Regions from separate parts of the Homo sapiens genome. Here all the other regions are linked to region 1. The links are contacts of gene promoters, found by promoter capture Hi-C in human tissues and cell types (Jung and others, 2019). All regions are on one chromosome and are shown on one strand. The core of a region is centred on a gene start or on the middle of the fragment in contact, and the rest is flanking DNA. Distances in the headings are between cores, read along the strand shown. Region 1 holds the start of CACNG3 (calcium voltage-gated channel auxiliary subunit gamma 3). Region 2 overlaps LOC105371143 (a long non-coding RNA gene). Region 3 has its middle 98 kb from the start of RBBP6. Region 4 has its middle 130 kb from the start of CACNG3.

Region 1 (7,871 bases), core at 1,823-4,322:
TTGGGTCCCTCATTGATCTGTTGAAAGAGCCCTCTAGTGGTGAAAATGAGGAACGATCTCTAGCCTTACAAGCAGATTCTACGCGCCCAGGTCCACACACCTACACATTCAATTGAATGAAAGGATGAGGTCACCCCCTAGTAAGTTGGGAGGCATGATAGGGAACAAACTGCGGCCTCCCTGCCTCCACACTCCCACTCCGTTCAGTTGTTCTGACTTGCTCCACATGCAGGCTCGGGACTTCCCACAGTGATCAGGTTGGCCCTGGACAGCAATTCCAAAGAATGAGCCTGCCTCACCAAGTCAGAGGCTCAGGACAAAGCTCCAGTTTTATCACATGTATCCCTTTCTCTTATTCAGCAAAACTGGGTGCATCCTGACCCATAATTGTTACCTTCATCTACCTGAGCTCCTGATCCTTTTCCCCCAACTATCCTTCTGCTAGGCTCCTGGGCACCATACTCTGCTTGTCTGCGCTTCTGTTGTAGAGCTAAGTGGGTGGAGATGAAGATGCTGCTGTTCCACTGTGGGTCTGGTAAATGGAGAGATTGGGGCATACTGTCCCTTAGCCCGAAGCTCACTCACCTTTCATCAACATGGTCCTTCTTTGAAAGAAGACCTTTCTCACTTCTATCCAAGCAAGAGAAGAATCAAACAGATCCTGAAATGACTGCTTTGATCATTAGTAATTATTTCATCTTATTTACCTTTCTGAGAGTGGGGAGAGAAATTTTTGCTAACTGAATTAATCCCTCCCAAGAAATACCAACCTCACCTCCATGTTACATATGGCTTTCCCTTAAAAAAGAAAGGTAATAACAATCAAGGCAGGATATTTTTATTAAGATGCAAATTTTCATTTCAGGAAAGAAAATGACACTAAGAAACTTGTAGGGGCCCTCGTGTATCCTCTCCCTACTATCTTCTGTCATTCTTCTGGAGTACGGCTGTGGTGCTGGCCCCAAGTTTATCCATTCCATTGTGGATTATGTGGCAAGATTTCAGTATTTCTACCTCCTGTCCATAAATCAGTGTTTTTGAACCACGACACATGCATATGCAACTAAATGCTCATAGGTATACACACCTACATATTCAAATCTATACTATACCTACACACGTGCATGCATACACATACATGTGCAAATATGTATGCATATGCATAGCAAAAATGCTAGGCATTTGCAGCAAATATGTTCACATGGTCCATAACACTGTCTGCAGGTACAAACATACATTTACATACTTGCTTTACTTCTATGACGGATTCACAGGCATTCAGAATTTATAACTAAACTGAACATAGCACAGGTGAGCATTCAAACACAATCACTCCACAGCTATATATTCAAACTTCCTCCTGCACATGAGTATTTATCTAACACCAAGAATAAAGTCTTCAGTCTTAACACCAAAATGAAAGTAGCAAAGTCACCAAGAAGTTGTGAGCTGCATTTGCGAACCCTTCAATATATTCCTGCTACCCAGTCACCTGAATAGAAGTTCCCAGGCAGCCAGAGATGGCACCAGGGGAGTATGTTTGTCTGCGATTACCTCCCGTTATATTTCTGTCCAGCTAAATAACATTCAAACATGACAGTTGGTTGCGGACACATCTCAGGAACTGTGGAAACAACCCAAGCAACCTCATTTCCAACTATCTGACCTCTGGATATCAGTCCCAGGATGCCATAAGAAAAAAAATAATAAGGGCATTTCTGTGGGCTGTTTCTAGTCAACTCGGTGTGTGCCCATGCATATGCCGGAATACATAGTAATAAAAAGCTGGTTAAATGCTGGTCCTTTGCAATACTGGCTATTTCCAAGGAAGAGAGCTTTCAGGTGTGCAATGCCATTTGCCCTTTGGACTAACAAGCAAAGCAGACCTAACTTCACCTGCTTCATGGTCTCACTTAGATAACAATGTTAACAAATGATATCTCAGAGACCTTTGAACAAAATCTGACATTTTCAGTGACTCTCCCACCATGAATCCATCACCCCCTTCGATGTAGATATGTTAAAATGTATAAAAGGCATATTCAAAGGCCAAAATCTTATAGTCTTTTGCCCAAGGTCCCTAATATGTGTATGACAGAGTCTATGTATATTTAGCTTCTTCCATCTTTTAGGAATACATGATCATGTATATATGAACAGTTCCGGGTCTGATCTGAGCGGGTTGTCTTCGGTGTAAACCAGAGCTCCAGAGAAAGGAGGGTAGACATATTGGTTTGTTTGCTGGGGAACCAAATTGAGACAGACTCTACACAGATGTGATTGTGACAACACTTTTTGCCCGCCTAAGCGAGCCATAGAGCCGTCTCCAGAGCTGCCGGTGCCTTTAAGAAGACTCGGTCTTTCGGGTCTTCTTTTTCCCCAATGGGCTCCAGTGGTGCCCGCAGCAAAAGGCAAACTTGCCTGGCTCATGGGGTGAAAGGGAGGATTGAAGAATGCCGCGTTGGGTGGGTGCTGAGGGAGCGCCAGAGTGCGCTACGGGCTTCGCTCCCCTTCCCCTTTCCTTAACCCTTCCTAGAGCGGAGGAACCGGGTCGTGCTGCAGCGCCCAGGAGCCAGGGCGCTGACTGTCCTCGGCTCCAGAAACTTTGCGCGGAGAGTGGGCTTGACTGGGCAGAGCCGAGCCGGCTGGCTGACCCGGGAAGGAACGGGGGAAGGGCGGGGTGAGGGAAGAAAGACCCTTTAGCACCCCGGGTTTCTAGCCCGGGCGGCGGTGTGCAGCTGCATGAGGGAGCTGTCCCTTCGGCACCACGGACCTTAAAGCCTAGGCGTTAAGACGACGGAGGCGGGGCAACAGGCGGGGAGCTGTCCCTTCAGCACCACGGACCTTGGCGCCCCCAGGGAAACCAGCCGGCCCCCGCCCCAGGACTCTGTCTTTTCTCCAGTTTGAGCGGGGGTGTCGGGAGCAGGCGGAGAGCTTTCCTGCGAGGCTGTGGAAGCAGTGAACACTCTTCTCAGCGGCTCGCCTCCCAGCAGTGCTATTTTTTGCCATCCGCCCTCACCCCCAGCACACGCGCTCGCACACACACGCACGCACGCACACACACACACACACACACTCACACAGAGACCTCTCTGGGTTTCTTTGCCTTGAGTCTCCCGGGGCTGTGAGAAGCCAGGCGCATCTCAAACCGAGCTGGCAGCTCCAGGCTCCGGAGCCATGCCCTGCACGGACCCTCGTCTTTACCACGCTCCTGAGGAATGAAAGGAACCCAGGGACCCTCAGAAGGCAGCAGTGATGCGGACCAACCCCCCGGAGCCTGCACCCTTCCGAGGGCCATAGGCGACCCAGGGAACTGGAGAGAGCTCCAGAAAGGAAATCCCAGCTTTCCCAAAGTCCCTGTGGATGCTGACAAAAGGAGACCTGAATTTTTGGAAGAGCCTGTACTAGGTTACCCGGCTGCAGAGTGATTTTCCCCTCCGGCACTGACTCTCCCCCTCCAACCCCCAGCCGTCCAGAGTACCATGAAGAATTATGAGGATGTGTGACAGAGGTATCCAGATGTTGATCACCACTGTAGGAGCCTTTGCCGCTTTTAGTTTAATGACCATTGCAGTGGGCACGGACTACTGGTTATATTCCAGAGGTGTGTGCAGGACTAAATCTACAAGTGATAATGAAACCAGCAGGAAGAATGAAGAAGTAATGACCCATTCGGGGCTGTGGAGGACCTGCTGCCTAGAAGGTATTTACAATTTCCTCTCAATAGCTCTGAATAATCCAGTTCTGATATTCTGGTGGGTGTTTGGAGGAGATGGAAATGGTGATAAGGAAAGAAGAGAAGTTCAAATTATTGCTGAGAATGTGCAGGTGCCCAGACTCTGTTAACAGCAAGACTGACGCCATGTGGGTTAAAGGGGTTGGGTCTTGTTGATTGTTTTTAGTATAAGCTTCATGAGATGAGATTTTTGTCACACTCTAGGCAGCTTCTGCAGTTTAGAAAAGTCTTCAAATCCAAAATCCCTAGGCATATTGTCAACTGCTTGGATCTCTGGCTTGAGATGGGGTCTTTAACCCTGCTTAAATTGGATTTCGAAGGGAGGGGGAGGGAAGGGAGGAGAAGGGACAAGAGGAAAGAAGTGAGGGGGGAGAGAGAGAGAGAGAGAGAGAGAGAGAGAGAGAGAGAGAGAGAGAGAGAGAGAGAGAGATCCTGACCCGGTCTGGCACATTCTGAGCTATTTCATTATTTCTCAACATAGACTTATCAGTTTCTCCTGAGTTTGCTCTAACTAGATATTGTCATGAACTTCCACTGCCAATCAGTAACAGGGTAACATATGTAAACCCCTACTCCCACCCACACCCTATGCACACATTTTAAGAAAAAATCCTTATTGATACATGTTTTATTAGTTTGGATCACAACAAAACTGAAGTCTTGGTATTTTGTATCCACCTGTCTTCATTCCTAAATCATTCCCAAACCCCTAAAAAGGTATTTCCATGACATTTACAAAAGACTGATTCTCCAAGAATTGCAGTTCGTCATTTCTAGTTCTAAAAATTAGGGAGTAGTTATAACTTATAATGAAGAAGAAAGAGCAATTTAAAAATATAAAGCCCTTTTGTAGCCTATCACACTATTAAACTTGCTTTCACCACACCAGAAGTCACTCTCAGCACCAGTAGGCAATGCTTGGATATCACTGGGAGTAAATAGAAAGATAAGGAAGAAAATCAAAGCTCTTTGGAGCCTATGTGCCTGAGGGAAGTCACTGGATTAGAGGGGCAGTAGGGGTTTTCTTAGGCTTCCGAGAAATCTGTGAAGCTTGTCACAGTGGTGGGCAAGGAAATCTGCGTTTCCTGTGTGGTCCCCTCCCCTGCTTGCCATTGGTTCTTCACACTGCATTTTCACTGGCTGGCATTTGTCAGGGCTTCTTGAGAACTTGCATTTATGTAAATCGCTTGGGAAATCATGCTATGACATCACTTGCCAGTGTAATATTGCATCATTCTCTGGCCTTTTTCCCATGTCCTGACACTTTGAACAACTGCTCTCCTGACCGTAGCGCTACTACAATTGATTCTGTTTCTAACACAAATTTGCAACTGGTGGGAAGCCCAGGTAGGAAAGGGCTACCTTTAATGCAGCAAGGATCATGTGAAGTCAGAAGACCTGGGTAATGCTGCAAAGTATCGCTGTGGCCTTGGTTAAGACATTTACCCTCTCCAACTCTCAGTTTATTCATCTGGGAAATGATACGTTTGGATTAGGTGGTCTTGAATTAACATTATCTAAAGCTTATACTGTATTCAATATACTGACAGAAATTCTAGAATAATTATTTCCTAAACAATGACAAAAGTTGGATATTTGTGAGCATTTGTGATTGGGTATGGTGAAGTCATTTACCTCAGGGAAATTCCATATTTCCCTTTCTTATATTGGCTATAAGGAATTGAATTATCTTTTGTAAAACTGATTTGGTGGATGTTGCGATATCTACATGGTTCTAGAGATGGCATAGAAGTTCTAAGGTTCCTCCAAGCCAAAAATGGCACATATGTATACAGTGCTTTAGCCATTTCCAATTCTTCTGCCTCTGGGAATCAAACCTGAGAATGCACAATTAAAAATGAAGTTTGACGTTCCTCATTATGATCTATGAAAAAAATATATATCTATAAGAGCAGAGGTAGGACCTAAAATTTCTAAACACTTGCTAAGAATTTCTCAACTGATGATTTCTCTTTTTTCCAACATCAAGTCCTACACCCACAGTTTGTACAAGGAATTGAAACCCCAGCCAGGCATTCTGTAGGCTTAGTGGGAGAAGTGAGAAATTGAATCAAGAAGGAATTGGATGAATTGAAGACATAACCTTGGGCAGGTGAATTCTATTGAGAAAATGTGTTGCAGTCCCCATACAACTTGGCCTGGCTTTTTTTGTTGTTGTTCACTTTTTTGAAGTATTAAATACAGTAAGATGCACAAATCACAATGAATCACAATAAAATATTAGCTATGGCTGCACCCATGTAATTAACACCTAGGTGGGTCCTGGCTGAAATTTGAAGCCAAGATGTGTACTAAACACATCAAGTGTTTGGGGAATTTGCAGAAGCCTCTGATTTCTGCATGGGAAGTCACATGCAGTTGGTAGCATCCATCCCAGGCATTTCCATCCTTTGCTAGAATGAAGATGAACAGTCCTTTCCCATTCAGTATTTCTTACCTACACCTGAGCCTCAAAATCCTCATTTTCTGGTCCTTTAAGTGTCAAATGAAAACTGGGGGTTTTCGTAGCTCCATTTTCTTAGAGGTCAAATTAGAAATGTTTGTTCTTCTGTGCTTTTTTAAAGAGCCATGAGACAATGTGATTATTTTATCCAAAAGAAGAGAATGCCAAGGAGAACATGACAGCTGTCTGCAAATATCTGAAGGGCTGTCATATGAAAGAGAGATTTGAGATGTTCTGTGTGGCCTCAAGGAGGTAGAAGTAGGAGCTAGAGGAAACCAGGTTTTACCTCAATATAAATAACTATCCAATGTGGAATGGGAAGCTTTGGCAGGTGATGGGTCTTCCAACACCAAAAATATTCAAGAATAAGCAAACTACATCGTTTCCCAACTTTGCTGGTCATCAGATTCTCATGAGGAACTTTTAAAAAATTAGATTATCAGGGGCTCCACAACTAGATTCCCTGCTTCCATAGGTCTGAGGTAGACCAGGAAAATCTGAGTTTTCTAAAGGTGCTCCAAGCAATTATGATGTTAAAGCCAACATGTATTGGTATTTGCACTGGTATTGACTATGTGTTTTAAGGATGATCCCATCACTCAAGGAGGAGAAGGATGTTTCCAGTTTTCATTTCTGTAGGTAAGTTATATCCTTCTCCTCCTTGAGTGACATGATCAGCCAAACCAAGTTTACCTTGTAGCTGAATTTGGCCCATGGGCTGCCAGTTTTGAGCCTTGTAAATTACCTAAATGGCATTTTTAATCCAAATTTCTGATATTTTTATATTTGACTCCTGAATTACTCTTTAATAGTCAATAATCACTTTTTCAACCCTTAAAAAATACCTAGGAAAAAATAAGCTAACCTACCAGAATATCCCTTACATTTAGCACTTACTATGTGCTCAGGCTGTTCGAAGAATTTTGAAAAATTAACTCTTTCATCTTCAAAGCAGCTCAGTTGTGTAGGTACTATTATTACCCTCATTTTACAGATGAGGAAACTGAGCCCTGGGGGATTTACATAACTTGCCCAAGGTCACACACCTAAACTCAGCAGGCAATACTTAACCTTAGTCGTGCTGCCTCTCTGAGTATTTGCTAGAAAACATTAATTCATGCTTTGGTGGGTAGCCTGCTACTGGTACAAACATTAGTTTGTGAAAATGCCCAGGCACATGGGTTTTTCCATTCAGAAGTTTCAGATCTCAGAGCACTCACTGTGCCTGTGCAGCATCAGCAGGGATGCAGGAGACACCAGACACACACAAACTTAGAGGCAGCAAAGGACACGCTTTGCATGGAGAGACAATTGACCTGTGTAGAGACACCCACACTGGGAAGCCAACAAGAACGCCCAACTCATTAACTGGAAAGCACGGGAGGCATTCACAAAGTAGAGCCCTAACCTGCTGCGTGTTATCAATAGTGGCCTGTGAATTTGAATGAGAACGTGTTCAATATGTGACTCTCTCATTAAGAAAACCTCATGAAGTCCTGGAGACAATCAAAGCAATGTATTTAGATAGCAGAAAGACCACCAGTCTAGTAGTGAGGAACCCTAAGTGTTCATCCCATTTCCATAACAACAGTTATGTGAATGGTGAATGTTATTTTCCCTCTTTGGACCTTAGTTTACCCAAATCTAAAATGAGAAATTTAGATAAGATTA
Region 2 (7,871 bases), core at 1,863-4,362, 220 kb after region 1:
TTCTAAGATTTCCTTTCTTTCATAGGGAAAGACAATGGTGATTCTGGTTAAAGCTGGAAAGCAGCAGTGGGTTTGATGTTTAACTGCTCTCAGCTCACTTTCCAGGCAACTCTAGAAGATATATATATATATTTTACATTTAAGAATATATATATATATTTTACATTTTAATCATACATTTTTAAAAGGAAAAAGGATTATTTTGTTCACGTTACAAGTGTGTCTTCATCTCTTCCCTTAGGAAATGTCTTGAAGGCAAATAGAAGGAGATGCTACCATGTGAAGTAGATCCTGCTGTCAAACCCAGAGGGTTCAACAGTTTGGGAATAAAGCTCGCTTGAAGGAAGAAATTCCAAGTGTCTTTCAAAGCTAATGACTATTAGCACGATTTTCTTTTTTGCAATCACATGGATACAATGGCAAAGCAATGGCCTGGCATAGGGGCTCATACCTGTAATCTCAGCACTTTAGGAGGCTGAGGCAGGAGGATCCCTTGAGGCCAGGGATTCGAGACCAGCCTGAGCAACATAATGAGATCCTGTCTCTACTTTAAAAATAAAAAATAAACAAAATTAAAAGATAAAAATAAATTCAAAAATTATGAGGCAAGGCTAGCAAGGTTGATAATTTACCCACACTCTGTCCCATTAAGGATGATTTTGGCTACAAGTATCAGATATTCATCTCAAGTAGATTTAAATTAGAGAGTTTATTATCTCACATAACAAAAAGGGTGAAGGGACGATGGTCCATTTAGTAGTCTGCCTCCTCAAGGACCCAGGCTTCTTCTAGTTTCCCTGATAGCCCTCAGTTAACTCCTCTCATGGTTCCAAGCTGTCTGCCACAGTTCCAGTCATTACTTGCATCAGAATAGAGACTGTTTCTTCCACGTGTGTCTCTTCTTTTCTTTTCTTCCTTTTTTTAAAATTTTTTTATAGAGACAGGATCTCGCTCTGTTGCCCAGGCTGAAGTGCAGTGGTGCAATCATAGCTCACTGCAGCCTCAAACTCCTGGGCTCAAGCAATCCTCCCATTTCAGCCTCCTGAGTAGCTGGGACTACAGGTGTGCACTACCGTGCCCAGCTAATGTTTGTTTGTTTGTTTGCTTGTTTATTGCAGCCTTGGTATGTTGCTCGAACTGGCCTTGAGCTCTTGGACTCAGGTGACCCTCCCTCCTGGGCCTCCCAAGGGCTCGGATTACAGGCATGAGTCTCCACACCCTGCGTCTCTTCTTTTCAATGAGAAAAATCTTCCCAGATGCCCCACAGTAGAAGTTTCAATGTCTCATAGCCAGAATTGTTACATAATCCTTTGCCTAACTACATCACTGACAAGGGAACGGGGCATGAAGACCAGTTTAGAATAATCAGTATGTGCTTCTGAGTCATGCAGGAGAGGACCATTTGCCCTGAGCAAGTGACTGTACAGAAAGAACGAGAACACCTGAAATCAGGGGAACCAACGGTATCTGCAACATACTACAAAGCAGGTGTACAAAACATGAACGTTCTTCTTTGTCCGTAAATATCTTGCTCATGTGCCCTTGTCCCACTGATGTCAGGGGTGGAAAAATCCTAACTTCCAGTTAAGGTAACTTGGTTACTTCTAGTTCAAAACAGTCTCTCTAGTGCTGGTTCAATTTCTTTTGGATAAATATTCAATCCAATTCAAGGTTCAAATTCTCTACCAGGGCCATCTCTCTCTTGTCAAGGGTTGGTTCCTCATTCTCTGTCTCAAGATGGTATGGCATCCAGGTCCTCAGAAAAGCCTACACTTCCTCCTAATGATGGGGCAGGGGCCCACATATGTCCCACTGTGCTGTCTCCTGGACCTTCAGTATTCTCTGCAGAAATGTCCTTTGTCCTGCCCGATCACTGAGACTTCTGCTGGCCTCTGATGCCGGTGATATAGGAGTAAAGAAGAAATTATTTAGGCAGACAGTGAGGGTAAGGAAGTCCTCAGTAAGGTTTCCTTTTAATGAAAAGCAGCCCCTGAATCATTTCTTTTCTAACAAACAGCAGCCTGTAAAATTGAGCTGCAGACACAGAAGCTTGCACGGGTGAATGCGGCAGCTGTGTCAATAGGAAAAGGCTACCTGGGACTAGGCATGTTCAAAATGGCAGCTGCATCTTCCCTTTCCCTTTCCAACCACATGTGCATTAGGCAGCAGACAACATGGTGCCGGCCAAGTGGAAAGCCTATTTGCATAATAAGATTAGGGTGGCGTGGCCAGCTTCCCCACACGCTATGTAAAACTCACACCTGGTCCAACCAATCTGTGGGCCCTGTGTCAATCAGACACTGCCTCCTCAAGCCTGTCTATAAAATCCAATGCACTCCATCGTGGGTCAGAAGTCCCACTGGCGCACTCCTCTCTCTCCTACTGTTACCCTTTCTCTTTCTTTTGCCTATTAAACCTCTGCTCCTAAACCCAATTCTTGTGTCCGCAAACTCGATTTCCTTGGCATGAGACAACAAACCCCCGGTATTTACCCCAGACAATGACACCATCTCACTGGTGGCCACAGTTGGTAGATGCTCAGATCTCCCAGTTGGGTTGTGCCACTGGGTGACTGGGCCAGGACCCTCTGTTGGGTAAGTCCCGCCTTAGCTTTCGCTGGCTCCGTGGATCCCTCTGAGATTGGGCTGTGACTTCCTTTCAATCTCCCTGGCCTCAGCAATCCATCCTGTAGCTCTTGGCTACACAGTCCTATGTTGACCCTATAATAAAAAGACAGGTTGGGTGCAGTGGCTCACACCTGTAATCCCAACACGTTGGGATGCCAAGGTGGGAGGAGTGCTTGAAGCCAGGCATTCGAGAACAGCCTGGGCAACATAGTAAGTCCTTGTATCTACAAAAATACATATATATATATACATATATATATATACATATACACATATATATATATACATATACACATATATATATATATATACACATATATATATATATATATGTGTATATATATATATATATTGAGACAGAGTTTCACTCTTGTTACCCAGGCTGGAGTGCAATGGTGCAATCTCGGCTCACTGCAACCTCCGCCTCCCGGGTTCAAACGATTCTCTGCCTCAGCTTCCCGAGTAGCTGGGATTACAGGCATGCACCACCACGCTTGGCTAATTTTGTGTTTTTAGTAGAGACGGGGTTTCTCCATGTTGGTCAGGCTGGTCTCTAACTCCCGAACTCAGGTGATCCGCCCGTCTCGGCCTCCCAAATTGCTGGGATTATAGGCATGAGCCACCGCGTCTGGCCACAAAAAATATTTTTTAAACTAGCTGAGCACGGTGGCACATGCCTGTAGTCCCAGCTACTCAGGAGGCTGTGGCAGGAGGATCACCTAAGCTCTGAAGGTCGAGGCTGCAGTGAGCTGTTATCACACCACAGTACTTCAGCCTGGGTGACAGAGCAAGATCCTGTCTCTAAAAAACTAAAAATAAAAAATAAAAAGACAGCTAGTACATTCAATTACTTTCTTTGTCTCTCTTGGTAATGGTGGAGGGGAGTGCTGGAGGTATTCCCAGGCACTCAGGAATTGACAGAGACCCAAGGCACCAGTGAAAGCCCTCTCTACATAAACACACGACACCACCAGTGTTCCTCTAATGCAGCCACTCTGTGCTGGTGCAGGGCTTCCGATGACTCATTTGCATCCCAGAGTCTCAAATGGGGACTGGGGCCCATACCCCACTGCTTGAGGATTCCCCCATATGTCTCCAGTTTTTGCTACTACACATTCTCACCCCACCCAGCAGGAGTTTTGATCCAGAGGGAGGGAGACAGGACACACTTACCTGACCCTTGTCCTTCCTCTCTCTCTCTCTCTTTCTCTCCCAATCTCTCTCTCTCTCTCTCCCAATCTCTCTCTCTCTCTTTCACCCACAGACACACACACACACATGCACTTATATCAAAAACTTTGGAATCAAAAAGCTCACTGCTATTTCAAAGACAAATACTACAAGTTCAAAAATATGCAGGCCAGGCGTAATGGCTCATGCCTGTAATTCCAGCACTTTGGAAGGCCAAGGGTGGCGGATCACTTGAGATCAGGAGTTCAGCACCAGCCTGGCCAACACGGTGAAACCCCATCTCTGCTAAAAATACAAAAATTAGTATTTTTAGTGGTGCAGTGGCACAAGCCTGTAATTCCAGCTACTCGGGAGGCTGAGGCACGAGAATTGCTTTAACTTGGGAGGTGAGGGTTGCAGTGAGCCGAGATCACACCACTGCACTCCATCCTGGGTGACAGAGGGAGACTCTGTCTCGAAATAAATAAATAGACTCCAACTAGATTCCCCTTCAATGCATTTGTTTGGGGGTGTCTGATCACCACATACAAGTTCTGTCTGCACGTGTAACATGAACTTACAGGTCAGAAAGACACTGACTCTTTGGAGTGTCTTTAGGCTTTGGAGACAAAAAAAACACTCTGAATGAGAATCACAGCTCCTGTATTCTGCTTTGACTTGAAACTATGAGCTCAGTTTTGGGTGAGACACTGAAGATGTAATGGGGGAGAAAGCATTCATTGGTATGGGCAAAGCAATAAAAGAAAACTCTAGGAGTCAACTAAGTGGGATATGAACGAAAACTACCAGAAATGGTGATTAGCTCATCTATCATCAGAAGGAATCAACTCATCATTTCAAAAAAAACAAATAAAAATTGGGCCATAATTAGGTCCAATTAACTCATCCTTCAAACACATTCTCTGTAGTGGACATCTGTTGTTTTGGCTGCCTTTCGGGTAATTACAAGCCAGTTTCCCTTTGGAGGAACATCCCTCCCCCAAATGTCTGCCATATAATTGATTGGGAATGACCCCATCCCTAACTCCAGGAATGGGTATCAACTCCCTGAAGCCAATCAGCTAATCAGTCTAATCCCCCAAGCCACAGTTTAAAGATTCACACATAACCAGTTAGAGCCAATGAGCTTCAAGGGGGTGCGTGGAAGAGAAGATGTCACTCTTCTTCTGAATATGTAGCCACCATCTTGTTTCCACTGTAGAGGCAGCCTAAGGATGAAGCCAACCTATGGGAGAAGGCAGTGAGAAAGGATGGTCACACTACTTGAGGCTGAATGTAGATTAACTTCTCAGTACTGTGAGCCAATACTGACCTAAGTGCTTAGGACATACATCATTTGCACAACCCAGTAAGAGGTAGGGTATTACCCCATTCTACAGGAAACCTGGTACTCATATAAATTAAGAGGATTGTCTAGTGTCACAAAAGCCAGGATTTGCAACCAATCATCTTGGATGCCAAAGCCCTGGCTCTTAATCATTCTACATGCTTATATAATCCTCACAATAAACTAAAACTCAGAGAGTTTAGGTAACATGTCCAAAGTCACACAGAAGGGAGATAAATGATGGAGCTGTGATTCTCATTCAGAATTTTTTGTCTACAAAGTCTGCATATTCTGCTTTAACATCAAACTATGAGCTCATTTTGGGGTCAGGTAGAGCCAATAACAAGGTTGACACATGCGTTTTTTTGTTTGTCTTTATTTTGTTTTTTTGAGACAAAGTCTCGCTCTGTCACCAGGCTGGAGTGTAGTGGTGCCATCTCGGCTCACGGCGCCATCTCGGCTCACTGTAACCTCCACCTCCCGGGTTCAAGCAATTCTCTTGCCTCAGCCTGCCGAGTAGCTGGAACTACAGGCATGTGCCACCACGCCCAGCTAATTTTTGTATTTTTAGTACAGATGGGGTTTCACCATGTTGGCCAGGATGGTCTCGATCTCTTGACCTCGTGATCCGCCCTGGCACATGTTTTTAAGAGCAAGGTTCCAGAGCCCATGAGGCTGGTGTACTAACACTCAATAAATGTCAAATGCCTCTGTATCTTATTCTTTTTTTTTTTTTTTTTTTTGACAGCGTCTTGCCTCCAGGCTGCAGTGCAGTGGAGGGATCTCAGCTCACTGCAACCTCCGCTTCCCAAGTTCAAGTGATTCTCCTGCCTCGGCCTCCCAGGTAGCCTGGGATTACAAATTTGAGCCACCATGCCTGGCCTCTATATATCTTAGTCTTAAATTCACCCACTGATATGGTATAGCAAGAGGGGCAATAAAGATAATAATAACCTAGCTATGCATAAACAGAAACCCAGCTAGATTTATTCCCTACTTGGAGGGTCTTTTGGATACCACTGGCCCTCCCCTTAAATCCATTCTCTTCTTTCTAGGTATGGAGGTGAACTACAATTCCCAGCATCCCTTGCAGTTAGGTGTTTAGTGATTTAGTTCTTGCCAAAGGGATTCAAGTGGAAGTGGTGTGTGTCTAGGCCTATGCAGTGGGCGTGACTCCTCCATGTTCTTTCTCTTTCCCACTGGTTGGAACCCTCACCATGCAGATGATGTTAATGCACTGGTATAGAGCAAAGCAACACGATGAAAGAACCTGGGTCCCTGAAAGACTATGTGGATTAGAGCCACCTCAATGATCTCAACTGCTAACCTCAGCACTGTTACATGAGAGGGAAAAAACCACTTTGTTCTTTAAGCCATGTATTGTTGGATACTTTTGTTATGGCCGCTTAGCAGTTTTACACTAAGACAAGGATCTAGAGGTCTTGGAAAAGAATTAGTCATGTTACGGGTGAGCTCAAGAAAAGTAACTAAACACAGCTCCCTATCTCAGGTTAAAAGCCACAGGATCTCATGCCTCTTTGTTATTCTCTCAGCATGAAAGCTCACTGCAGTGAATGAATAAAGCCAGCACTGGGTCAGGGGCTAAGGCAAGCTGCAGAGACTGTAAGGCATGGAGCCAGCATCTGTAGCAGACAGCAGGGAAAGTATGCCACATAGCTTAAGAGAGTTTCCTAAAATCCTGGTGCTGTGAGCAGAGCCTTTGAGAGAACCAGTGAACCCCCAAAACATCTGTTACATGAAGACCAAAAATGAGGGACTCTTCTGCCGGGAGGAAGCATCAGAAAATATTACTTTGATGGTGCCTTGGTAATTTTGAGCTGTTATAACAAGATACCATAGACTGGGTGGCTTAAACAACAAGCATTTGTTTCTCATAGTTCTGGAGGCTGGGAAGTTCAAGATCAAGGCATGGGCTGATCCTGTGTCTGGCGAGGGCTCTCCTTCTGATTTGCAGAAGGCCACTTCCCATTATACCTTCATATGAACAGAGAGAGAGAAAGCTCTCCTGTCTCTTTTTATAACTTCATTAATCTTATAAGGACTCCAACTTCATATCTAATCACCTCCCAAAGGCCCTTTCTCCACATACCACTACATTAAGAATAACAGTTTCAACATATGAATTTTGGGAAGACACAAGCATGCAATTCATAACGATGGGGTTTCTTGAGGGAAAAAAATCAACATCAAATAGTAGCTCACTGGAAGCCATAGATTAGAACTTCTTCTCTATCTCTCATAGTGCCAGTGCTCAGAAATCACCATTTGGTTAACTGATTTCCCGAGTATAATAATGTAGTCACAATCCCTTTGAGCAGACACATATTACTCGTGGGCAAGGGTATAGGGAAATAAATCACCTTGTACTCTGATGCTGAGGATGTTAGGGAAATACCACACTCCAGTGTTTAGGAGCCAGGACCCAGAAGCCAGCGTTAACACCTACTAGTTTTGCGACCTGAGTCTCTGAGGCGACCTCAGCTTCCTCATCCATAAAACAGGGATGATGGTAATGATAGCAGCATCTATTGCATACCATTATTATGAGGATGCAAAATTCTTAGAATAGTGCCTGTCCTATAGTAAGCCCTATGGAAATGTTTGTTACATCAATGTTCATACCACCTTCCAGGATGGGATTTGATAATATGCATTAAAAGCCTTGACCCAGCAATTACACATCAAAGGATTTTTCCTAAAGACAT
Region 3 (7,871 bases), core at 3,195-5,694, 190 kb after region 1:
AGTTTTGAGTGGGGTAGAGGAAAAGAGATAAGGAACTTCCATAAGGTGCAGAATCTTGGGAAGAGAGAGGAGAAAAGGTCATTGCTATGATTTGAATGTTGTCTCCTCCAAATTTCATGTTGAAATTTGACCCTCAGTGTTGGAAGTGGAGCCCATTGGGAGCTGTTGGATCATAGTGGGCAGATCCCTCATAAAAGGCTTGGTGCCATTCTATTGGTAAAGAGTGAGTTCTAGTTCTATTAGTTCCTGGGAAAGCTGATTGTTTAAAAGAGCCTGGTTGGGATGTGGTAAGAGGGAGAAAAGAAAAAGGAAAAAAAAAAAAAATCCTGGGACCTCTCCTCACTCTCTTTCTCTATTGCTTTCTCTCTTGTCGTGTAACATCTGCAAGCACCATTCCTCTTCCCCTTCCACCATGAGTGGAAGTAGCCTGAATCCCTCACCAGAAGCTGATGCTGGCATCATGCTTCTTATACAGTCTGCAGAAACACGAGCCAAATAAACCTCTTTTCTTTGTAAATCATCCAACCTCGAATATTCCTTTATAGCAACACAAACGGATTAAGACAGATGTTTAGGAAGTCTTCCTGTATATTGTGTGGTGTACAGCAGTCTCCTGTTATCAGCAGGATACATGTTCCAGGACCCCTGTAGATGCCTGAAATTGCAAATAGTACTGAACTCTGTCTATATCATGTCTTTCTTCTATACATACATCCATATAGTAAAGGAATGGGGACGTTTATGTGCCTGTGGAAAGAGCACCAGGAATTGGGGCTCCAGCACCCCCTCTTCTGGCTGGGAATAAGGTGGGATGCAGGGAATGAACAACCCAGATTTGCAAGAGCTGCAAGGGGAAGCAATATTTTCAAGGAGAGTCAAGTTTCCCTTAAGACAGACTCATGGAGTAGTTGTAGATGCTTACCTTGGAAATGAGCACAGAGAGAAGACTTAAGAGGGAGGGGAAAGTGGAGAGTTTGGGTCAGCAAAGCAGACGATAGAGTTGGCTCTTCAGATGGCTGGCTCCTTCCCAGTGGCTTGTTACCTCCTTGATCTTACCTCAGCCCTGTCTGCCCAGGTCCTATACAGCATTTATTCCTGTTTATTTCCATCAGAGTACTCAATCCAAAATGGCACTGTGTTTTTAATTTGTTTATTGTCTGGTCCTCCAGTTGGCAACCACCACCACAAGAATGTAAACTCCATGAAAGCAGGGACCTGTCTGAATAAATATATGTTGAATGAATTCATTAATGAACAGATAGATGGATGGACGGATGGATGGACGGATAGACAGATGGATGGATGGATGGATGGATGGATGGATGGATGGATGGATGGATGGATGGATGAATAAGTAGTGCTATGAGGGTGGGAGGATAGAAAAGCAGAGATATGGCTGGGTGTGGTGGCTTATACCTGTGATCCCAGCACTTTGGGGGACTGAGGCCAGAGGATCACTTGAGCCCAGGAATTCAAGACCAGCCTGGGCAACATGGTGAGACCCTGTCTCTACTAAAAATTTTAAAATTAGCTGGGCATGGTGGCGAGTGCCTGTAGTCCCAGCTACTTGGAAGGTTGAGGTGGGAGGATCACTTGAGCCTGGGAGGTTGAGGGTGCAGTAAGCTGTGATCATGCCACTGCACTCCAGCCTGAGTGACAGAGTGAGACCCTGTCTCAAATGAAAAATAAAAAATAAAAAGGCACAGATATCCACAAAGCTTCCACATTTGCCAAGGTGCCCTGAGTTAAAGGGATGTGCGCCCTGGTGTGATTAGCTTCTGTAGTGTTATGATACGTATTGGTTTTCATCCATGGTTCCTGGTTCCTAACTCCCACAGCCTTTGCTACAGTGATTTGTGGTCCTGTTGGGTGTGTTAGGCCTCAGCGACAGGCCTTTGGCTTTCTCCCTACCCTCCTTTCACCTGCTCCAAGGCAGGACTCTAATGTTACCCGCCTTTCTGATTGTGGGTCTTAAGACCCTCCCATTAGAGGGTTCCACCCTATACTCTGGGGGAAGGAATGCTGATGTCATGAAGCTTCCATAAAAAAGCAAGAGGACTGGGTTCAGAAAGCTTCTAGATAGCTGACCACGTGGAGGTTCCTGGAGGATGCTGCACTCAGGGAGGGCATGGAAGCTTCACGCCCCTTCCCCCATAGCTCGCCCTATGTATCTCTTCATCTGTATCCTTTGAAATATCCTTTATCACAAATGGCAAATGTAAGTAAGTGTTTCCCTGAGTTCAGTGAATCATGGGAACCCCAACTTGAAGTTCCAGAGGCCAGACTTGCAACTAGTGTGGTAGGGGGACAGTACTGGGGACTGAGCCTGGGATCTGACACTATCTCCAAGTAGATAGTGAAGGAACTGAATTAGAGGACACCCAGCTGGGGTCCACTGCTTGGTGTGTGGGGAAAAAAACCCACACATTTGGTCACAGAAGTCTTCTTCTGTGTTGATGATTGTTGTAGCGTGAGAGTAGAGGAAAAGTGCAGTTTGGGGAGAGTTTTCCCTACAAAGCTTTCCACAAGATGGAGACATGGTGCCTGGAGCCTCCCAATTTATTCCTATGGACAGATCTCTCCTGGCCTAGTTGCTGTGCCCTGGGAAGTTCTCCTTGAGAGATGCTTGCCTAAATCCGCACTCCTGCAATGGGATTTGTTAGCTCCAAGTTCTAGCCTAAAAATACTCCTCTCTGATATCAAGGACAAAATTTATAAACACAAAAGTGGTTATTACGGCTTAATCACAGGCTTGGTGGTAGTGACTCTTGGCAATCTCTCTAGGGTATTAACAAGAGCAGAGTAAATATGTCATGTAGGTGGTATTTTTAGTCTCATCCACCCTTCCGACCCAAATGGGAACATCCCTACAGAAGGTTCTTGTGACTTCCTGGGCCCCACCCCAGCCTTTGCTGCTCAGAAACCGTAGTCATGCATGCTATGGTGGCAGCCATGAAATGCAGTAGCAAGAAGGGGCAGGTGGTTGCTGCCTGGGACCCATCTCTTTCCTTGTCAGACGGGCACCAAAGTCCTGGTCCCAATAGGCTAATCTATGCTTCCTGATTTCGGTGACTGAGTCACTTCCCTTTGTAACCATGGGACCAGCCCAAACTGGGCCTACTCTGTTTATAAGCAAATGTGGGCTTGTCTTTTAGACGTAACAGAGCCAAAAGCTGCAAGTCAGGCAGCCTGGGCATATGCAATAGAAAAAGCTTTGACAAGACCAAGAACCAACAATTCCTCCCCTTTGGAACCAAGAAGACCGGGACATGGCCGAAACCTGAACACCAGAACTCTTCGAAAGCAAGGGTTTCACTGGCTGGAAAGATCTGGGCCAAAATCAGCCTCAACATATCTTTTTTTTTTTTTTTTTTTTTGAGGCAGAGTCTTGCTCTGTCACCCAGGCTGGAGTGCAATGGCACGATCTCGGCTCACTGCAGCCTCGGCCTCCTGGGTTCAAGCAATTCTCCGGTCTCAGACTCCTGAGTAGCTGGGATTACAGGTGTGTGCCACCATGCCCAGCTAATTTGTGTTTTTTTAGTAGAGACAGGGTTTCACCATGTTGGTCGGGCTGGTCTCGAATTCCTGACCTCAGGTGATCCACCCACCTCAGCCTCCCAAAGTGCTGGGATTATAGGCATGAGCCACCATGCCCAGCCCAACCTCAACATATCTTACTATAAATGGTCAAATTTGAAGCCCTCCAATCAAACCCTGCCAAGCTAACATTCCTAAATCTTTTCCCTTGTCCTCTGATTCTTTAAAACTTGTCCCAGAGCCCAAATCAGGGAGACAGATTTTTTTTTTTTTTTTGAGACAGCATACTGCTGTATCACCCAGGCTGGAGTGCAGTGACATAATCATGGCTCACTGCAGCCTCGACCTCCCAGGCTCAAGCGATCCTCCCTCCTCAGCCTCCCAGGTAACTGGGACTATAGGTGCACAACACCACGACCTGCTATTTTTTATTTTTTACAGAGACAGGGTTTCACTATGTTGTCCCGGCTGGTCTCGAACTTCTAGCCTCAAGAGATCTTCCCATCTCAGTCTCTCAAAGTTCTGGAATTACAGACGTGAGCCACTGCGCCTAGCCCTAGGGGGACAGATTTGAGCCTGACTCCTGTCTCCTTGCTGGCCGGTTTCGCAGTAAAGCCTTTCTTTTCTCAAATTCTGGTGCCACAGTTATTGGCTTCCATGCACATCAGGCTGCAAGCCCATTTGCTCAATAACACCTTCACAGGGGGAGGCGCAGCTGACAGTTACATGTATCTCATGGGAATAAAAAAAGTCCATCCTCTAAAAACCCTCTTTCTGCCAACTCTCATCCCCAGCATTGGCAGCACTGAAAAAAAGAAAAAACAAATAATCTCCGACTGAGCCCTAGAGCCATGAGCCTAACTAAAAGAGTTTTCCGAGCTACATCTTTTCTATTCAGTGCCAGAAGGCTTTAAACATGAAGTTTACACTCCATTCCGAAGGGTGGGCTCTAGGGTAGGTATTAAGCTGGTCAGGGCTGGGGTCAGGGACTAGACTGTCTCTCCCCACACCCCCTGGATGTGGAGGGCATGTTTTGTCAATACTTGCAATGAACCAGGCACCCTGCTAAATGCTTCATGTGTATCATTTCGTTCAGTCCTCACAACGGCCCTATGAAGCAGTTACTGATATTCCTTTTTTTTTTTGGAGACAGAGTCCCAGTCTGTCACCTGGGCTGGAGTGCAGTAGTGTGATCTTGGCTCACTACAACCTCCACCTCCCGGGTTCAGGAGATTCTTGTGCCTCAGCCTCTGGAGTAGCTGGGATTACAGGTGCATACCACCATGTCTGGCTACTTTTTAGTATTTTTAGTAGAGGAGGGATTTCACCATGTTGCACATTCTGGTCTCCAACTCCTGGCCTCAAGTGATCCACCCGCTTCAGCCTCCCAAAGTGCTGGGATTACAGGGGTGAGCCACCATGCCCAGCCTCTCCTCTTTTTGTAACTTTCTTTATATGACCTTCCCAGGGTCACATAACAAGGGGCATTTTGAAGGTGGACAAATTCCCTCTGAGCCTCTGCTCTTACCTATGAAGCAGATTTATCTGAGCCTCCCTATAGGTTTTCCCCTATAGTTTACAGTCTGTAGAAGCCATCCCCAACCTCTCTGGCAACCAGGACCAGTTTCGTGGAAGACAATTTTTCCATGGACAGCAGGGAGGGAGATGGATGGTTTGGGGATAATTCAAGCACATTACATTGAATGTGCATTTTATTTCTATTATTATCACATTGTAATATATAATAAAATAATTATACAACTCACCATAATGTAGAATCAGTGGAAGCCCTGAGCTTGTTTTCCTGCAACTAGATGGTCCCATTCAGGGGTGGTGAGAGACAGTGACAGATCATCAGGCATTAGATTCTCATAAGGAGCACAACACCTAGACCCCTCACATGCGCAGTTCACAATAAGGTTCTCCCGCCTATGAGAATCTGATGCGTCTGCTGATCTGACAGGAGATGGAGCTTAGACAGTAATGCTGGTTCGCCGAGCTCACTTCCTGCCATGCAGCCCAGTTCCTAACAGGCCATGGTCTGTGACCCCAGGAGTTGGGGACCCCTGGTCTATAGAATTTGTTGTTTCCAGCCCTACCTCAACAATTAACCTCACTTTTGCTCGTTTTCATTTGGGAAACCGTAATATTGTGATGTAATAAGAAATACATACTTGGTCTTTCTCCCCAGTTCCTGGTACAAGAGCTTCCTGTAATTTCCTGAGTGACAGAATGTTAGGGGCATCTGTTGTTATTCATAGTAAGGTCCTTTCAACCACACCTGAGTATATGCTAATGGTATATGCAAATGACTCAAGGGGGGGTCCCCTAGATAGCTTCAGGCTTGGGGCTGGTTGCCAGAGGGAATCACATCCATGTGATTAGAAGTTTGGAACTTTCAGGCCAGGCGCGGTGGCTCATGCCTGTAATCCCAGCACTTTGGGAGGCTGAGGCAGGTGGATATCCTGAGGTCAGGCATTCCGGATCAGCCTGGCCTACATGGTGGAAACCCCGTCTCTACTAAAAATACAAAAATTAGTAGGGCATGATGGCGGGCGCCTGTAATCCCAGCTATTCAGGAGGCTGAGGCAGGACAATTGCTTAAACCCGGGAGGCGGAGGTTGCAGTGAGCCAAGACCGTGACATTGCACTCCAGCCCAGGCAACGAGAGCGAAACTCCGTCTCAAAAAAAAACAAAAACAAAAAGTTTGGAACTTTCAGCCCCACTCCCACAACCTTTAGGGAGGAAAGAGAGGCTGGAAAGGAAGACAGTCACCAATGGCCAGTGATTTAATCAATTATGCCTGCAGGATTAAGCCTCCACCCAAAACACCCCTAAACAGTGGGGTCTGTAGAGCTCCCAGGTTGGTGAAGACACAGACATGCTGGGAGGGTGATGTGCCCGGAGAGGGCATGGAAGCTCCACACCCCTCTCCTAGGCCTTGCTCTGTGGACCTCTTCCATCTGGCTGTTCCTGAGGGTTTTTTAAAATAATAAATTGGTAATCTAGTAAGCACACTGTTTTCCTGATTTCTGTGAGCCATTCTAGCAAATTATTGAACCCAAGGAGTAGATCCTGGGAAACTTAGAGCTGGTTGGTTAGAAGTACTGAGGAGCCAGGTGCAGTGGCTCATGCCTATAATCCAAGCACTTTGAGAGGCCCAAATGGAAAGATCACTTGAGGCCAGGAGTTCAAGACCAGCCTGGGCAACATAAAAAGACACCATCTCTATAAAAAATTTAAAAGTTAGCCAAGTATGGTAGTATGCATCTGTGGTCCCAGATACTCGGGAGGCTGGCGGGGGAAGGATTGCTTGAGCCTGGGAGTTCAAGGCTGCAGTGAGCCATGAGCATACCACTGCACTCTGGCCTGGGCAACAGAGTGAGATCCTGTCTCAAAAAAAAAAAGTACTGGAGCTCCAGGATTGGCATCTGAAGTGAGGGCGGTCTTGTGCGACTGAGCTGTTAACCTGTGGGGTCTGATGCTTAAACTAAAATAAAATCTTAAGTCTCCCACTGATTGAACAGACCTCCTCTTGGCCAAAAGGACCCCAAAGAAACCTTAAAAACTCAGTTTCTGGCTGGGTGTGATGGCTCACACCTGTAATCCCAGCACTTTGGGAGGCCAAGGTGGGCGGATCACGAGGTCAGGAGATCGAGACCATCCTGGCTAACACGGTGAAACCCCGTCTCTACTAAAAAATACAAAAAATTAGCCAGGCGTGGTGGTGGGCACCTGTAGTCCCAGCTACTTGGGAGGCTGAGGCAGGAGAATGGCGTGAACCCGGGAGGCAGAGTTTGCACTGAGCCGAGATCGAGCCACTGCATTCCAGCCTGGGCGACAGAGCAAGACTCCATCTCAAAAAAAAAAAAAAAAAACACCTCAGTTTCTGGCTGGGCGCGGTGGCTCACGCCTGTAATCACAGCATTTTGGGAGGCCAAGATGGATGGATCACCTGAGGTCAGGAGTTGGAGACCAGCCTGGCCAACATGGTGAAACCCTGTCTCTACTAAAAATACCAAAAAAAAAAAAAAAAAATTAGTCGGGGGTGGCTGCGGACGCCTATAATCCCAGCTACTCAGGAGGCTGAGGCAGGATAATTGCTTGAACCCGGAAGGCAGAGGTTGCATTGAGCCGAGATTGTGCCACTGCACACCAGCCTGGGCAACAATTGTGAAACTGTGTGTCAAAAAACAAACAAACAAACAAACAAACAAACTCAGTTCTGGCCATGACGCGAAAGGGTTGGAAACACCTCATTATGCACGCTCCCTTTCAGGGTTTAGATACAATACCTGACAAGCATTAATGTTAAACTACAGACCATTAAGAC
Region 4 (7,871 bases), core at 2,732-5,231, 130 kb after region 1:
ACACTTAAGTCTTAAGAAAGTGTTTCTTTCCTTAGTCCATTTATTTTATTATGTATTATTATATATTAACTACATTTATATTCATTATATAGTTATTTATTAATTGCAATATTGTATGTTATTATTTTCCTCTCCCTCTAAAGTCTGTTCAGTGCTCCACATGCCCTGTCCTCAAGCTGAGCTCTACCTGCCACCCCCAGAAAAGTAAGACCCCAATTCCCCAGGCTGGCCTCATGTGTTGCAGAATCTGCCATCTCAGGCGTCTCTTGAATATGAAGAGACTTCTCCTCTGCTCTTTTTGCTGGTGGGGAGGGTAAGCTTTGATACATTCTTCTGGTTTCTCCAGATAGTGAGGAAGAATCCTTGTCCCATGAATGAAGGTGCAGGGTAAGATAGGGAAGTAGACATACCCACTCTAGGCTATGGCTTGTTTTCTCTCAAGGCAACTGAAATCAAACACAATGCTAACGTCCCTTTAAAAACCCCCACCACAAATAAATGTTTTTGTCTCTCATGACTTGACTTTGACCTATTCATCGACAAGTAATTAATCTGGCTTTATTATGCTAAAGACACAGCTACTCCTTTTTTTGACTTGGGTTTTGTTGTTTTTTGTTTGTTTGGGGGACAAGTTCTCACTCTGTTGCCCAGGCTGGAGTGCAGTGGTGCAGTCTTGGTTCACTGCAACCTCCGCCTCCCGGGTTCAAGCAATTCTCCTGCCTCAGCCTCCTGAGTAGCTGAGACTACAGGCGCATGCCACTGTGCTCAGCTAATTTTTGTATTTTTAGAAGAGACAGGGTTTTGCCATGTTGGCCAAGCTAGTCTCGAACTCCTGGCCTCAAGTGATCCATACACCTTGGTCTCCCAAAGTGCTGGGATTACAGGCGTGAACCACTGCACCCAGCCTTAACTTGGGTTTTATTACAATGCAGCCCCAAATTACCTCCTCTACTTAACTTGCAGGTCAGATTTTTTTTTTTTTTTTTTTTTTTTTGAGACTGGGTCTTGCTCTGTCACCCAGACTGGAGTGCAGTGGCACAATCTCAGCTCACTGCAACCTCTGCCTCCTGGGTTCAAGCAATTCTCCCACTTCAGCCTCCCAAGTAGCTGAGATTACAGGCATGTGCTATCATGTCTGGCTAATTTTTTGTATTTTTAGTAGAGACAAGGTTTCACCATGTTGGCCATCCTTGTCTTGAACTCTTGACCTCAGGCGATCCGCTGCCTCAGCCTCCCAAAGTGCTGGGAGGCCCGCCACTGCGGGCCACCCACCTGTGCCCAACCACCGCACCCGGCCACGTCAGATGTTTTCAACTATGGCTAAACATTAGAACCACCTTGGGAACTTAGAAACAGACAAACAAAACCCTATGCCCTATCCACTGTGATCTGAGAGACCAAAATAGACTCCCCTTTATCAACTAAGATGGGCCCTATGGTTAGGGAAACAGAAGTTACCCACAGGTTGAGGGTTCAGAGTGATTGGCATGCGAACTCCGTAAATTGCTACAAGAAAAGCCACACCCTTTCTAAACTGCCTAACACAATAGGAGGTACCAGGCAAAGTACCAGGCCTCTCCTAACTCTGATTTACAACTCAGACCACTACAACTCTGTCGGACAGAGGACCGGTCTTTTTTTTTCTGATAAGCAACTGCAGACCTTAAGCCAGTTTTGGCAGTTTATAGAGGCTGTGCACAAACTGTTTCTGTGTCCTATAGTTCACTTTTTATGTAAAGATCAAAATTCCACATCATTTTAATGCTAGAACACTACCCCAAAGTGAGCATGAGATGTATGTTACATATATGTTTACCCAATTCACATGCACTCAGCGCCTCTCATAAATATGTACAGCCGTTCCCCCAGACTTGCTGAATATGTACAATACCAGTCCTGTGAGGCAAAAAACCCAACCTGCTCTTTCCCTCTTTGAAAAGAGAGCACCTTTGGTCCAGGCTGGAGACTGTCTCTTCCCAGTTTACAAACTGATATCACCAATAAAGCTCTCCTTTCTACTCTTTGGCCATATTGGTGGCCTTTTGGACAACGCTATAAACGGTAAACATACTCCTGCCCTATGTCCCAACAATCCCGTCCTCAAGTGTATGCCTAACAAAAACAAGTTCATCAAAAAATAAAAGTGAGGCTGCGCGCAGTGGCTTACGCCTGTAATCCCAGCACTTTGGGAGGCTGAGGCAGGAGGATCACTTGAAGTTAGGAGTTTGAGACCAGCCTGGCCAACATAGTGAAACCTCGTCTCTACTAAAAATACAAAAATTAGCTGGGCATGGTGGCACACGCCCATAAACCCAGCTACTCGGGAGGCTGAGGCAGGAGAATCGCTTGAACCTGGGAGGCAGAGGTTGCAGTGAGCCGAGACTGTGCCATTACACTCCAGCCTGGGTGATAGAGTGAGACTCTGTTTCAAAAAAAAAAAAAAAAAAAAGATAAGTGTACAGGCAGGGCACAGTGGCTCACACCTGTAATCCCAGCACTTTGGGAGGCCAAGGCAGGCAGATCACGTGAGGTGAGGCGTTCTAGACCAGCCTGGCCAACATGGAGAAACCCTGTCTCTACTAAAAATACAAAAATTAGCTGGGTGTTTTGGTGAGAGCCTGTAATCCCAGCTACTCAGGAGGCTGAGGCAGGAGAATCACTTGAGGTGGAGGTTGCAGTAAGCTGCGATCTTGCCACTACACTCCAGCCTGAGCAACAGAGTGAGACTCCATGTCAAAAAAAAAAAAAGTGTACAACATGTTCATAGGAGCTTTTGTTACGATAGCCAAATAATTGAAAACAACCACATTTTCATCATCAATAGGATGGATCAATAATTTGTGATATATTCGTCAGTGGAATGAATGACTGCTGTCCCCACAAAGTGGATGAATCTCACATACTATACAGCTTCATTTATATGATGTCAAGAACAGGCAAAACCAATCTAGAGGTACAGAGGTCAGAATAGTGGTGCCCTGTTCTGGTGGGGTGGCAGGAGTTACTGCCTATGAGTGAGACAGGATAATTCCCTTCACCCACTTTGTGGGAGGGAACTGGAGTGGCTCATTTATCTCAGCCCACTACTGGCCACTCCTCACAAGAGGGAGCATGCAAGCAAGTGAGGGTGGGAACTGGAGCGAATGAATATTGGAACTGGCCAGTTGCTCCTCTATGGCAGGAGCAGGCTCTGTGCGGCCCCACAGCAGCATCCAAGTATATTACAACCAGTGTTCTTTCAGCTCTGCCACCCAGGGACAGCAAAGTGCCAACTAGCTCACTGGAGGGTCAGGGTGGTAGCCCCTGCCCTCTTGGCACCCGGGATCTTGTCGAGAGTCCAGGAACAATCAGGTCACAGGAACGGATTGAAAAGGTAATGAATGTGGAGGATTTTACTGGGCAATGGAAGTGGCTCTCAGTGGGATGGGGAGTTGGAAAGGGGATGGTGTGAGAAGAAAGCGATCATTCCCTGAAACCGGGACATCTCCGGCTGGGCCTCTCTCTAAAGCTGCACAGTCTGAAGTCAGCTGTGTCTATCCATAGTCTCTGATGCTCAGTTGCTTCTCTGTGTACCACTCAGCCACTTGTGTTGCTCTTCCAGCTGTAGTCTTTTTATGGACACAGGATAGGGGCATGGCAGGCCAAAAAGGCAACATTTGGGAGGAAAAATGGGGTCAGCTGTTTTCGCTTAGGGCCACCGTTCCAGGCTTGGGGGGGGTTTAGCCAGGATCCCAGCCATTCTGAATCAGGAGAGACTTAAGGAACTTCCTAGAGGGTGCTAGAAAAGTTCTAAAGCTTCATCTGGGTGGTGGTACATAGGCATAAACTTATGTAAAAATTCATTGAGCTGGCTGTGCATGGTGACTCACACCTGTAATCCCAGCACTTTGGGAGGCCAAGATGGCAGGATTGCTTGAGGCCAGGAATCCCAGCCTAAACAACATAGCAAGACCCCATCTCTATAAAAAATTTAAAAATTAGCTGGGCGTGATGGCTTGCACCTGTAGTCTTAGCTACTCCAGAGGCTGAGGTGGGAGGATCACCTGAGCCTAGGAGGGTGAGGCTGCAATGAGTGGTGATCATGCCACTGCACTTCAGCCTCGGTGACCTTCTTTCAAAACAAATTAACTAAAAAAAAAATTTTGTTGAGCTGTACAGTCAAGATTCAAGATTAATGTATCCTAGTGTAATATGTAACTCAATAAAAATTTTTGTAAAATAAGCAAAATTATATAAAATACAAAACACCTCTCCCTGAGAGTCTGATTTAATTGGTCCTCAGTGGGGCCCAGACAAGAGGATTTTTTAAGACTCTCAGGCTGGGAGCGGTGGCTCATGTCTGTAATCCCAGCACTTTGGGAGACTGAGGCAGGCAGATCACAGCCTGACCAAAGTGGTGAAACCCCACCTCTACTAAAAATACAAACATTAGCGTGGTGGTGCACACCTCTAACCTCAGCTACTCACAGCTTGAGGACATGACCCTATTAGTCACATTTAGTGAGGCACTAGAATTGCTTGAATCCAGAAGTTTGCAGTAAGCTGCGCTCCAGCCTGGGTGACTGAGCAAGACTGTCAAAAAAAAAAAGAAGGAAAAATTAAAGAATCTCAGAGGATTTTGAGATAGCCTCTCTCTGACCCCGTGGATCACCCCTCACAGCTGTGTGGAGAAGAGGAGCGAGTGTCAGTACATGCAGGAATCTCTGGTCAACTGGGCTGAAGCTGATGACTTGACCTTCGGACCTAAGGGGAACCTCTTGTTCCCCATTGGTCCACATCTTATCATCAGTGGGTCATTGAGACAAAAGCAAAGAGTGTTGAGGAAAGAAAAAGTGATCATGAGACAAAGCAGGGACTCCTCTTGGGGCCTTCTGGGCAACCCTCGACCATGAAAGCAAGGAAATAAAGGAAAAGCTTGAGTTCCTTCTGAAACCACCACTGCAAAATTGTAACTGAGATCTGACCTGACCAACTCCATCTTGCTTCTAACCTCCAGGCTGCCCTGGGCCTAGGCTGAACTAACTTTGGGAGGAACTTAGTTTATAGTGTAAAGCAAAGACAATAACAGCCCTTTCCCAAAACAAACCTCATTGCCTGGGGACTAGACTGCTTTTGCAGGACTAACAAATTAGCCACAAGATTAGAAATTATGGTTTAGGAGTCATGCAGCTAGAGGCTACAGGATTCTGACCCTCCCTATACTGCTCCTAAGATCAGTGCTTGAGATATTTTGCAGACCTTGCACTTGATGGATCGTCACCCAGACCCACTAACTGGCTTATCTGATCTTGTGACCTCCATCCAGGAACTGACCCCACGCAAGAGGACAGCTTCAATTCCCTATGATTTCATCTCCTACTTAACCACTCAGCAGTCCTGGCTCACTGGCTTCCCTACCACGCACCAAGTAGTCCTTAAAAACTGTGACCCCGAATGCTTGGGGAGACTGATTTGAGCAATAATAAAACTCCGGTCTCCCGCACAGCTGGCTTTCCGTGAATTACTCTTTCTCTGTTGCAATTCTCCTGTCTTGAGAAATTGGCTCTGTCTAGGCAGCAGGCAAGGTGAACCCACTGGGCAGTTACATTTCCAGGGAAATTCCAGGCACCTAGCTAGGACTGAGAAGTAAATGAGCAATTTGATAAGCAAGATGGTAATGGTGCTTAAAACAAAAGCCAAGGATGTTAGAGTCATGAGAATGTTTGGTTCCCCATAAAAACTAAAGACAAAAATCTTAACAAATGTGCCTGACTTATTTTTCAGAAATCTGGACCCCCACCAAATGGATCCACTGGGAGGCAGCCCTCAGAAAAGGGAGAACTGAGGATGGAACTCTGACTGCCATTTTTCTTTTTTTTTTTTTTTGTGATGGAGTCTCCCTCTGTTGCCCAGGATGGAATGCAGTGACACAATCTCAGCTCACTCTAACCTCCACCTCCTGGGGTCATGTGATTCTCCTGCCTCAGCCTCCCAAGTAGCTGGGATTACAGGCAGGTGCCACCACGCCCAACTAATTTTTGTATTTTTAGTAGAGACAGGGTTTCACACCCGGCCCCATTTTTCATCCTAAATTTCTTCCTGAGGGACCTGAAAGGGGTCACATCCACAAGCCAGAGCTAACAGTCTTTTCAGCTGATCCCAAATCTTTAAACAAATCTTCAAACAAATCTTCATCTCCTTAACCAATCACAAATCAGAAAATCTTTGAACCCACCTGTGACCTGTGGGCCCCTACTTCAAGAAGTCCCACCTTTTTTGGTCAAACCAAAGTACAGCCTTCACGTATTGATTTATGACTTTGTCTGTAACCTCTCCCCCTGTGACTTTAAAATCCCTTACTTGCGCTGGGTGCAGTGGCTCATACCTGTAATCCCAGCACTTTGGGAGGCCGAGGTGGGTGGATCACGAGGTCAGGAGATCGAGACCATCCTGGCCAACATGGTGAAACCCCATCTCTACTAAAAATACAAAAATTAGCTGGGTGTGGTGGTGCGTGTCTGTAGTCCCAGCTACTTGGGAGGCTGAGGCAGGAGAATTGCTTGAACCTGGAAGGTGGAGGTTGCAGTAAGCTGAGATCGCACCCCTGCCCTCCATCCTGGTGACAGAGCAAGACCCCATCTAAAAAAAAAAAAAAAAATCCCTTACTTGTAAGCCATCAGGGAGTTCAGGTCTGAGGCATTAGCTGCCCGATTCTCCTTGCTTGGCACCCTTAGTAAAGGCCACACTTTCTCTTATTGCAATCCTAATGTCAGGATTTGGCTTTGCTTCACCAGTGAGTAGACCCCCATTCTGTTCTGTAACACCCAGACCTACCCCAAGAAGGCCAGCTAGCTTCAGTTTCATTTAACTTTTTAGCTGCATGGGAAAGAAGAAAGCCTGGAAGAGGAGGAGCCTACCAAGCTTCAGGTCTTGACCCTCCAGTTATCCCCAACTTTGGCTGCCCATTAGAATCACCTGGGGTAGGCTGGACATAGTGGCTACCCATTCTCCTCAGTCCTAGGTTGGGTAATCTCAGCACTTTGGGAGGCTGAGGCGGGAGGATTGCTTGAGCCTTAGAGTTTGAGACCAGCGTATGCAACATAGTGAGACCCCCATCTCTACATATAAAAATAATAATAATACATGGCTGGGCGTGGTGGCTCACGCCTGTAATCTCAGCACTTTGGGAGGCCAAGGCAGGCAGATCACGAGGTCAGGAGATTGAGACCATCCTGGCTAACACGGTGAAACCCCGTCTCTACTAAAAATACAAAAAATTATCCAGGCGTGGTCGTGGGTGCCTGTAGTCCCAGGTACTAGGGAGGCTGAGGCAGAATGGTATGAACCTGGGAGGCAGAGCTTGCAGTGAGCCAAGATCGTGCTACTGCACTCCAGCCTGGACAACAGAGCGAGATTCCATCTCAAAATAATAATAATAATAATACAAAAATTAGCCAGGCATGGTGGTAGGCACCTGTAGTCCCAACTTCTCAGGAGGCTAAGGTGGGAGGACGACTTGAGCCCAGGAGTTTGAGGCAGCAGTAAGCTGTATTGTGCTACAGCACTGCAGCCTGGGGGACAGAGCAAGACCCCGTGTCTTAAAAAAAAAGAAAAGGAAAGAAAAAAAAAAGAATCATTTGGGGAGATTTTTAAAAATCTCGATGCCAGACTGTTACTCCAGATCAATTGTATCAGAATCTCCTGGGGTAGAGGGACAATGCGTGAGTATTTTGTAAAGCTCCCCAGATGACCCCATTGTGGAGCCAAGGTTGAGAACCACTGCTCTTACCTCTGCAGCCAAAGATGGCCACAAATATCATGTCAATGCACTGTGACCTTGGCCACTGGTAAATGTGGCCCCTTGTTCTGGAATCTGACCCAATTCTCTTAAA

What was found. Contacts are between HindIII fragments. The study calls those that stand out against the background at their distance.
Region 2: a fragment that was not itself captured here is called in contact with the fragment with the promoter of CACNG3 in region 1 in 2 of the 25 tissues and cell types used here (H1 embryonic stem cells and dorsolateral prefrontal cortex).
Region 3: a fragment that was not itself captured here is called in contact with the fragment with the promoter of CACNG3 in region 1 in 4 of the 25 tissues and cell types used here (H1 embryonic stem cells, heart right ventricle, lymphoblastoid cells and 1 more).
Region 4: a fragment that was not itself captured here is called in contact with the fragment with the promoter of CACNG3 in region 1 in 3 of the 25 tissues and cell types used here (H1 embryonic stem cells, dorsolateral prefrontal cortex and mesenchymal stem cells).

Annotation. Positions count from the first base shown.
Region 1 is chr16:24,253,263-24,261,133 of GRCh38, forward strand. CACNG3 (calcium voltage-gated channel auxiliary subunit gamma 3) reads left to right here and starts at 3,073. Exons shown (of 4, transcript NM_006539.4): 1 at 3,073-3,703. The coding sequence starts at 3,493. RefSeq lists an enhancer at 2,821-3,548. The HindIII fragment of the contact is 9,462 bases long and covers 1-4,347 here.
Region 2 is chr16:24,476,394-24,484,264 of GRCh38, forward strand. It overlaps LOC105371143 (a long non-coding RNA gene), which reads right to left. Exons shown (of 4, transcript XR_950928.3): 2 at 2,493-2,720. Among named protein-coding and RNA genes, the nearest start is that of RBBP6, 59 kb to the right of the region's middle. RefSeq lists an enhancer at 6,125-6,999. The HindIII fragment of the contact is 5,939 bases long and covers 144-6,082 here.
Region 3 is chr16:24,437,411-24,445,281 of GRCh38, forward strand. No RefSeq gene overlaps it. Among named protein-coding and RNA genes, the nearest start is that of RBBP6, 98 kb to the right of the region's middle. The HindIII fragment of the contact is 9,139 bases long and covers 1-7,871 here.
Region 4 is chr16:24,383,873-24,391,743 of GRCh38, forward strand. No RefSeq gene overlaps it. Among named protein-coding and RNA genes, the nearest start is that of CACNG3, 130 kb to the left of the region's middle. The HindIII fragment of the contact is 3,851 bases long and covers 2,057-5,907 here.